Regions from separate parts of the Homo sapiens genome. Here region 1 is linked to region 2. Evidence: promoter capture Hi-C in 16 types of primary human blood cells and fetal thymus (Javierre and others, 2016). All regions are on one chromosome and are shown on one strand. Each heading gives the region's core, a stretch centred on a gene start or on the middle of the fragment in contact. The rest is flanking DNA. Distances are from core to core; before and after follow the strand shown.

Region 1 (5,034 bases), core at 1,143-3,642, 590 kb after region 2:
AAATGCATATGGGCCTGCCCACACATTAGTATGCAGATGTATACAGGCACACAAGTATATACACATTCTAGGGAATTCAGGACAATGTCCAAAAATGCATCCCTGAGCCTCTCCTTTAGTGCCTGATTCTTAGTGAGTGTGGGATGTTTCTGTCTCTAGGAAGACCCTGCTAAGATCCTCAGTGGCCTTTCTAGTGGGGACTTATGTAGTCATATTGCTACCCTCATGTCATAACCATCGGGGGGGGTCAGCAGGGAGATGAAAGAGAGTGAAAAGAAGAGCAGTAGGCTGCTGAGCCACTTCTTGCTCCATAGATTTCACTCTTATTTGAACCCATGGGCCAATTCCACTTTATTCCAGGGGCCAAAGCAGGGGACTCGGTGTGGAACACTGTGGGGTCAGGGAGATCAACGAAAACAAAAGGAACCTGTTCTCAGTGGCAAACCTGGTTCTTGATCTAGACACCATCCCATGCTTGCTGTCCCCATGGTCCGAGTGGAGTGACTGCAGCGTGACCTGCGGGAAGGGCATGCGAACCCGACAGCGGATGCTCAAGTCTCTGGCAGAACTTGGAGACTGCAATGAGGATCTGGAGCAGGTGGAGAAGTGCATGCTCCCTGAATGCCGTAAGTCCTGGAGCTCCTCAAGGCCCATCACTTCTATGTTCCTGAGTCCAGGGAGCCCCGAACCAGCCAGTGCTAATACTGCTAGATCCTAGAATAACATGGTTTGCTGGGGAAGAGTTTGGGGTTTGGCTTTCAGTGTTTGCAGTTACTTAAACACTGCAGTCAGTTTCATTAATAAAGTGAGAATCCCACTACCGTCTACAGAACACCCAAAGTTAAGGTTCCTGTGAAGTCTAAATGACAGACACATACGAAAAACAGCACAAAGCTCAATAAACCTTAGTTCTTTCCCTCCTCTCCCCCAACAATTATAGGCTTGCCTGACCCATGGATTTTCCAAGCATTTTAATTCTATTTTCCCTGTGACCATTTTAATTCCCCATGACCAGAGGCTGGACATTAAATCAATGACTCCTGCAGACTGGTAAGAAAACCAGCAAGAAAACAAGCCAAGTTCTCAAAAACTCACCCCACCCCGCTCCACTCCCAGTCCTGTTTTCCAAAGTCTCTGCGATCAGCTGTTTATATTACATGGGACTAATCTCCAAGCAGAGCAAGCCAGTTTCCTTGGCTGGTCTTCCAAGAGCTGCTTTTTTGGGTGGTAAAAGGGCAGGCACACTGGCTGTGGCTCTGGCCCCCTCCAGCATGTACTTGCAGTCGTTCATCCTCCCTCCCCTAGCTAGTAACCTTCAGCCGATGACTCAGCACCTCTGTTCCTCAGTTTCTCCATCTGTAAAATAGCAGGAAATACTTCCTAGGTTGCTCTGAGGATGAAACCAAGTAATTGGTCCAAAGTATGAGCACTGGACATGGCAAGGATAGGCCTTACTTAATCCCTGCTCCATGCTCCAGCTCCTGGGTTGTTTTAGGAGACTCAGCCATGGGTGGAGGTAACTTGGACCACCCACTAGAGAAAGCCTGGGGTTTTCAGTAACTAAGATTGGCCCATGGTTCAGGCCAGCTCACCAGAGTTGGGGCCCCATAGCCTTCTGACTTAGAGTGCCTGGGGTCCACTGAAGTAAGGGAGAAGAAAATGAAAATTTATGGAGCACTTACAGGGCTGGGAGCATCTCATTTAATCCTTACAACCTAATGAAAAAAAAAATACCATGATCCCCATTTTGCAGATAAGAAAGCTGCCTGAGCTTCCACAGGCGGGATAAAAGAACTGAAACTGTTGAACTAAATGAGGACATCTAAGTCCACCACCCTGACTTTGGCCTTGCAAGACCAACAGAGAGCTTGGAATAATTTACCTCCCTGGGACACATCCTGACAGTCAAACTGATGTGTTATTTTCCTTTCACATTTATGAGATGCTGGCTTAGTAAGAATTTACTGGATCTCGATAAACCATAAAGCACCACTTGCTCCTGACCCTCTTCTCTACTGAATGTCCCATTTCTGGCTCCTGTGTTTTTTGCATAGACCACCATATATAGAACACAGGATGATGTTGAGAATGAAAAGCTGCCAGGGTGTGTTAGAACCACAATGTCCTTGGTATTGGTCCACAAGGGTCAGCCGCCTTTAGCTTGTTGACTTGTTCTCTCCAAAGAGCAGCAGGGGGCTTGCTGGCCTTGCTCTGAAAAATATCACCAGTGAGTTTGGGACTGTGGGAAGCTATTCTGTACTTGAGGCTGATCTGACAATATTCTAGTTCACAGAGCAGGGCAAGAGGCTCTGAACACATCCTGAAAGTCCTCCAAAGCCTTCTTGAGTCATAGAGGGAGCATAGAATGGGTGATGACCTGGCACCAATCCTGCCTCTGCTGCTTACCAACCACACGGGCTGAAGTCAGCCTGCCTCTTTGGAGCCTCAGTTTCTTCTTCTGTAAAATAGCATGACACAGCACCTGCTTTGCATCCCTCATAGGCTTGTTGAGATGTTCAAAGGAGAGCGTGACCATATCTTGTTTCAGACATGTGATACACTCATGCCCATCTGTGTCTTGCCAGCCATTGACTGTGAGCTCACCGAGTGGTCCCAGTGGTCGGAATGTAACAAGTCATGTGGGAAAGGCCACGTGATTCGAACCCGGATGATCCAAATGGAGCCTCAGTTTGGAGGTGCACCCTGCCCAGAGACTGTGCAGCGAAAAAAGTGCCGCATCCGAAAATGCCTTCGAAATCCATCCATCCAAAAGCTACGCTGGAGGGAGGCCCGAGAGAGCCGGCGGAGTGAGCAGCTGAAGGAAGAGTCTGAAGGGGAGCAGTTCCCAGGTATGGCTCCCAAGTGTCAGCCTGGGTGGTCTCCAGGACAGGCAGGGTTCTGCACTGGGCTAAGTCTTGGACCTGTTTAAAAAAAAAAAAAAAAAAAAAGTCGGGGAGAGTCTGCATCTTCTGGAGTCTTCAGGCCACATTTTGATTCTTTAGATCCAAGTTTGTTCCCAAATATTGAGCAAGCATAATTTATAAAGGAGATTGGCGGTGGGGGTCATTTATCAAAGAACATTTAGATAACCTAATTACCTGCCAAAAATAAATTTTCAAGCAAAGAATCTTTAGGAATTACAGTTCCTTCTTTACACACATATAAAACCAATAATGTGTCCAACTTTGCTCAAAGTCAGTTATGACTTAGCAACACCATTCACTCCTTGCAAAGAGGGAAAATGATACAGATGTGTCAAAGGAGTCTTGTCTTGTTCATCATTTAGGGAATGTTCCTGAGAACCTCCCAGAACACATCATCTTCCATTTTAAGGGTGTGGCTCAGACAAGGCAGCCGTGGCCTGAGACTTTATGATTTTTTTTTGCAAGGCTAACCAGAAGTTTATCAGCAGTGTCATGTCAGCCTTGAGTTTTATTTCCCCAAATAATATTGATCCAAGCTGACAAATAACTAATAGAACAATGCACCAAGTGCTCAGGGAGCTGAGGAATGAGCATCATCTTACATTGACTGGAGTTCAGGGAGATGTCAGAGCAGGGAAAACTAGAGTGGGTCTTGAAAAATCTAGAGGAGTTTGCCACTTAGAAAAGTACATTCCAGGCCGGGCACGGTGGCTCATGCCTGTAATCCCAGCACCTTGGTAGGCCAAGGCAGGCCAATCACTTGAGGTCAGGAGTTTGAGACCAGCCTGGCCAATATGGTGAAACCCCATCTCTACTAAAAGTACAAAAATTAGCCGGGCATGGTGGCGCACACCTGTAATCCCAGCTACTCAGGAGGCTGAAGCAGGAGAATCACTTGAACTGGGGAGGCAGAGGTTGCAGTGAGCCAAGAGCACACCATTGCACTCCAGTCTGGGCAACAAGAGTGAAACTCCGTCTCAAATTAAAAAAAAAAAAAAAGAAAAGTACATTCCAGGCAGCAAGAATAGTCATTACAAAGGCACAGAGATGCCAAAGACCATGATAGGTCCAAGTGATAGGTCCAAGTGATAAATGGGATGCAGATGAAGCACAGAGGACAAGGCAGGCAGGAAACCAGGCTGGGAAGGCAGGGACCAGACCACACAAGGCCAGTGGCCCACCAAGGATTTTGGGACCTGATTCTGTAGGTGGTTTTAAGCAAGAGGGTGACTGTATCAGACCTGTGTTGACTGATTTGGGGATGGCAAACAGACACAGAGGCCAGATAGGTTTTATTTGTAACCCAAGAGAAAGATTATACATCCCCAAACTCCAGCTTAACTTCAGAGTTCCAGGACTTCAGAAGAAAAAGAAAATGCCTGCCAGGGACTTCAGTGCTGAAGGTGCCCATGTAAAAAAGTGAAGATTAACATGTACATCAAGTTTTCTGATTTTTAAAGGCCTATTCTTTTTGAAGCATGAGGATCTCCTTGATGGTTCAGGATCCTTATGATTAGGGAGCTGTTTGCATATCAAAGTGCTGTCTGTTCTACATGGTAGTCAGCCAGTCAACAAACATTCATTAAAGCCTACTATGTGGCAGGTACATAGTTGTACGGTACATTCCTCCATGACTCTTAGCTGTAGTGTGGTTAACAAATATCTCATGTGTAACCATAAATGTGGTGGGTTCTATAAAAGAGGAATCTAGAGTGCTATGGAAGCAGTAATCAAAAGATCTAACCTAATTAATCTCTGGGGTCAGGGAAGTTTTCTTGGAGAGCAGCATGTTTATGCTGAGTAGGAAGAACAAAAATTGTACTTCTCTATACTTAGCATTTGGGAGCCAAGTACTTGGGGAGTAAGGCATAAGAGAAAGTGGTTTAGTGTTCCTTATATGGCTGCTGCATAAGCCATCCCAAAACAGTCTTTTTAAACAATCACTTAGCAAGATTCTGTGGATCAGTGATGTGAACTGGGTCCACTGGATGGTTCTTCTTGGGTCTAGTTTGGACTCATTCATGTGGCTACTACTAGCTGGTGGCACAATTGGACCAGACCAGCCTCACCTGCGTATCTGGGGCCTCATGAGATGGCTGGGGCTTCTCTG
Region 2 (5,057 bases), core at 68-2,567:
CAGAAATGACAGTACTTGCTGCAAGACTGTGAGCTCATCGAGGCAGAAGCCATGGCATTCAAATTAGTTTCCTGAGCCAGAACTTAACATCTGCCACAAAGTAGGCAGTTCAGTGAGCTTTTGTAGTTTCCAACTGGATGCAGCACTATGACTGCTTTTAGCTACTAACAGGGCCAGGCACTGAAACAAGCTCTAAATCCCCACAGAAAAATCACTCTGAGCCATCCATCCCTAAATACCAACCTGTGCATGCTATTCACCGTGCCAAGAGCGTTCACTCATTTTTGCTTCTCACAAATCTTTTTTTTTCTTCCTATGGCTTGCATGTTTTGAATGACAGCTAAATCCTAATGCGGACTGTTTATACAATGGAGTCCCACGGAGCCCAAAGATTGTGGTAATATTATTACAGAATTCTCATGATCCTTTTATTATTTTTTAAAAATGAGCCGTATGAATGTGGTAATACTATTAAGTGTCCGGCTCGATGAATTCCTCCATGTGTACACAGCCCGGAACGACCACCAGGATCAAGACGCAATGTTTCCAGCTTTCCATAGGTTCCCTCGTGCCCCACCCCTCAGAAGTAAACGTTATTCTAACTCCTATCACTACCGGTAAGTTTTGTAGGGAATTATTTTGGAGGAAGTGGAAGGTGGAATGAATGGGCCCACAGTCCCCTGGGACTGGGCGAGACCCGTGGAGGCTCCAGGGGTCCGTAGAGCTCTTCGCTCTCACCGACCCGGGCCACACCCGCCAAGCTGGTAGTTCTCCGAACGGATCCCTCACGCCCAGCAATGGCCGGAGGGCCCCCGGGCCCCACCATAATAGCGCTAAGCACGCCACAATGGCAGCCCCGCTGTCTCCCGCGCGGGCCTCGCTGCGTGCTCCCAACCTTGGGAGTTGGCGCCCCTCCCGCGCGACGGACAGCCGGGCGTGGCCCTGGGCGCGACCCGACAGGACGCCAGCAGCCGGCGGGGGCGCTCCAGGACTCGAGATGTGGGGCGCGGGCCCATTGGCTGAGCATTCCCCCGCGAGCCTCCCGGCCGCAGGGCCCACCTCCCGGCCCTCTCTCCGCGCCCCCATTGGCCGTTCGCGTTCCGCGGGCGTCCGCTCCCGCCCCACTCCCGCCCGGAGGGAAACCGGGTTGGGGGTGAGAGGCTAAAGCAGGGAGGAGGATGACTGGTCCTGCGGATAAGGGTGTGCGCGAGAGCCAATCAAAAGCGGATGTCGAAAAGAGGCGCCGCTCCAGCCAGTCACGTCGCGAGGTGCGGTCGGGGCCGGCTGACGCGACTGCGGGCCTCAGCCAATGGGCGTGCCACTGCCCGTCCGCTCTTCAGCAGCCGGTCGCGGGCGGTGGAAAAGCGAGTGAAGAGAGCGCGACGGCGGCGGCGGCGGCGGCGCAGCTATTGCTGGACGGCCAGTGGGAGAGCGAGGCCTGAGCCTCTGCGTCTAGGTGAGAAGGGGGTGCGCCAGCGGGAGCGGCCGGGCTGCGGGCTCCTCCTCGCCTGGCTCGGGAAGTGGTTGCGGGAGCTCGGGCTGCAGGCCTGGCCGAGGCGGGGGCGCCGACCAGCCGTCCCGCCCCCGCCCCCGCCCGGGTACGCCCAGAAGTGAGGGCGCCCGCCTCACCCCGGGTGGTCTCTGCCCCTCTTTGCCCCGCCGCCGCCCTTCACAGGGCCGGGACCGCGTGGGGGACGTACGGTGGGGCCTGGTTTGCAGCCGCGGAGCCCGGGGAGCCGCCTGGGGTGGGAGGCCGCTAGAGGTGGCGAAGGTGGGGCGGGGTGGTTAGCCGAGCAGCGGGCTCCGCGTGCTCGCGGGAGGGTAGCGGCAAAGGGAGGCCTAGTGATTGCAGGATTCCGGGTCTGGGGAGGAAGAAAGTGGTGGGAAATAGGTGATGCTCAGAAAAGGGTGCTGAGGGAGAAGGCGCGGGGCCGGGGAGTGTGGTTGGCCTATTAGAAGTAAGGATTGATAGGGCCTGGGTGGAGATCAGCTGGGAGTGAAGGGGGGACGGGCTTGGGTTTTGAAGGTGAAGGTCTCTGGAGAACTGGGGACACGTGGATCTGGAGTAAGAGGCACCTACTGAAACCGGAAGGTGGCTGAGAAGGTTTTATGTGAGGTGTGGACGGGAGGCTATTGGACTAGAAGGCATTAGTTGGTCTGTTAGGACAAAGTATACAAGCAGCAAACGCGGTAGATTTATGTGTGGTAGGTGAAGGCTGTGAATCTTTTATGAGTAGTTGAGCAAGAACAGTTGTCTGATTCTGCGGTGTCGGAGAGTGGAGGGTCTCAGGTAGTGTCTTGGTCAGGTTTGAAGGTTAATTTACTGCTAGTGGAGGGCCAAATACTCAAAAGAGTTTTTAATTCTCACTACTGGGGCTGATCCTCCTCCTACACTCCACCCCTCCTGCCATCCCTGTGACAGTTCATCTCGTTTTGCCTCAGCAGCACAAGAACTCACTCCCTCCGAAGTAATGGCATACATATTGTTTGCTTTTGACTAGATGGCAGTCAGGAATCCCTTAATTCTTTATGTTAAAAAAAAAAGTGTTGGTTTAAAGACAACATCAGAAGATACTCTCAGAAAATCTGCCCTCCAGGGGAGTTTCTCAGCTGTCATGTTGGGCATGTGTAATATAGCATAAAAATGATGCAAGATCTCTTACAGTAATACAAGTGAGAATTAACGTATAAGTACAATCCTGATGTATTTTTTTCAAATTAATTTAAAAAGTAAACAGAGACAGGGTTTGCTGTCGCCCAGGCTGGAGTGCAGTGGCGAGATCATAGCTCGTTCCAGCCTCAAACTCCTCGGCCCAAGAGATCTTTCCACCGTGGCCTCTCAAAGGCTTGGGATTACAGGGGTGAGCCACCCCACCCAGGCCCTGTTATTCCATACATTTTCCATAAAATTATTTTATAATTTTTGTTTTGTTTTGTTTTTATTTTATAAATTTGTGTGTGTGTGTCTCGCTTTGTTGCCCAGGCTGGAGTGCAGTGACGCGATCTTGGCTCGCTGCAACCTCCACCTCCCAGGTTCAAGTGATCAGCTCTTGCCTCAGCCTCTCGAGTAGTTGGGACTACAGAGACATGCCCCACCGCACCGGCTAATTTTTGTATTTTTAGTAGAGGCGGGGTTTCACCATATTGGCCAGGCTGGTCTCGAACCCCTGACTTCAAGAGATCCATCCGCCTCGGCCTCCCAAAGTGCTGGGATTACAGGCGTTAGCTGCCGCGCCGGCCAAAATTATTCCATAAATTTATCCATAAAAATTCCACATAAATTTTCTGGAGTTTGATTATGTATTAGGCTTGTTGGGAAATTTATTACCCTTGTGAAGAATTTTGTAGCTAAGTAGCTTGAGGGTTTTTTTTTTTTTTTCACTCAGGAAAGACATGGTATGTATGCATCACTGCTATTCTATTTGAAGCTTTTGGAATTTTTATTTATGGGGTGTGGATAGAGGCTGGAGGCAGAGACTGAGGTCAGAGAAGAGGTAGTAGAAAAGAAGGTGGCCCACTACCATATTTCCAGTGTATTTAAATGGGAGATAGAGTTTCTGTTTGAGGATAGGACAAAAGGTTTGTGAAGAGTTATAGAGTCAAGGACAGAAGCCAAAGAGAGCATTTGCTGTGTAACATGTTTGCTTGTTAACCAGATCAGCAAAGCATTTTAACTAATGGACCATTATTTATGATCTAGAAACAATTTTGTGAAAGCGATTTCTTAGTGATGCTGTTTACTGTGATCACATTTGCCCTTAGTATAACAATACCTAAGTGCTGAGGCGACTTGCAGTAGAGAAGTAATCTGAGTGGCGTGGAGTGAATCAGGGAAGGTTTCCTGAAAGAGGTGAGTTTTGAGCCATCATGTGAACTAGAAGTTGGGATGTGGGTTATTACAAGACATGAGGATGACATTCCAGTAGTTTGTACTTGGTATAAGCAACTGTGGACAAGAGTGACAAATTAAAAATGGTTTTTAAGGATGATTGAAGATTCGAATGAAGATTTAGGGGTTTGGAAATCAACCAAGGCTATGTTGCAGCTTAGCTGATAAATAATTTTTTATGTTGGTTAGGAGAGAAAATTAACAGTTGATAATGGATTGGAGATAGGTAGTAAAGGAAAGAGCATAAAATATTTGATAGTTATAGGAGAATGAAGTGAAAGTAAGGTTATTGAGAGGTAGGTTTAACAGTCAACCATATATCATAAGTTGGAAACATTTTTGAGTCCTGTGCTAGAGTATATTGATAATAATAGCAAAATTTATTGGGTGCTACTTTGTGGCAGACACTGTTTTGAACCTTCCAAATATTATCTCATCTTCTGATTATCTGTATTTTATAGATGAGGGAGATAAGACTCAGAGAGATATAACTTGCCCAAGGTCACACAGCTAGGAGGGGACAGGTCAGGATTGGCAGAATCAGTCAGTAAATGTTAATTGAGCATCTGCTTGATGCCAGGCACTGTAGTAAGTGCTGGGTGTTCAATATTGACAAGAAAATTCAAGTCAGACCTCATCTATTTTCTAGAGATTGTCAGTTTATGTAAGAAGAGCCAGTGAAGAAAGAAAAAGATTAGTTGGAGAGATTTCTGTAGATACTGAGGAATACACTGTTTAGAGAAACCTGGGATAGAGTTTTAAAGAGGTGGTGGTTAGCAACAAAGTATATAGCTGAGAGACTCAGAACGATTGAGAAGAAACCATTGAGTTAAGTAAGTAAAAAAGTAATGTGAATTTAGTCACAAGAAAGCTGGAATGAAGATATTAATGTTTGGGCTGGTAGTTAATTGTGTTTAGTGGCAGGTACTCTATACAAATTTAAATATTTTCACAGTTATGGTCAGATTCATAGGAAAGATGATGGTATGACCCCTTGTAATGTTTTAATCTTTGGCTGGAAGATCATGGATGCTTTAAAATGCTTGCACTTTTTAGTTTTTTCAAATTTAAAAAAATGAGCAGGCAGACCGCCTGAGCTCAAGAGTTCAAGAGCAGCCTGGGCAACATGGCAAAACCCCTTTTCTATCCAAAAAAAAAAAAAAAATTA

Evidence for each region. Contacts are between HindIII fragments. The CHiCAGO score rates a contact against its expected background, and 5 or more counts as called.
Region 1: a contact is called between a fragment that was not itself captured here and the fragment with the promoter of FAR1 in region 2, in 1 of 17 cell types (naive CD4 T cells). The highest score is 5.1, in naive CD4 T cells.

The regions. Positions count from the first base shown.
Region 1 is chr11:14,260,127-14,265,160 of GRCh38, forward strand. It overlaps SPON1 (spondin 1), which reads left to right. Exons shown (of 16, transcript NM_006108.4): 14 at 462-626; 15 at 2,586-2,849. Among named protein-coding and RNA genes, the nearest start is that of RRAS2, 97 kb to the right of the region's middle. The HindIII fragment of the contact is 7,755 bases long and covers 1-5,034 here.
Region 2 is chr11:13,667,351-13,672,407 of GRCh38, forward strand. It overlaps FAR1 (fatty acyl-CoA reductase 1), which reads left to right and starts at 1,318. Exons shown (of 12, transcript NM_032228.6): 1 at 1,318-1,456. RefSeq lists silencers at 868-1,357, 1,468-1,747 and an enhancer at 1,828-1,877. The HindIII fragment of the contact is 7,046 bases long and covers 1-3,426 here.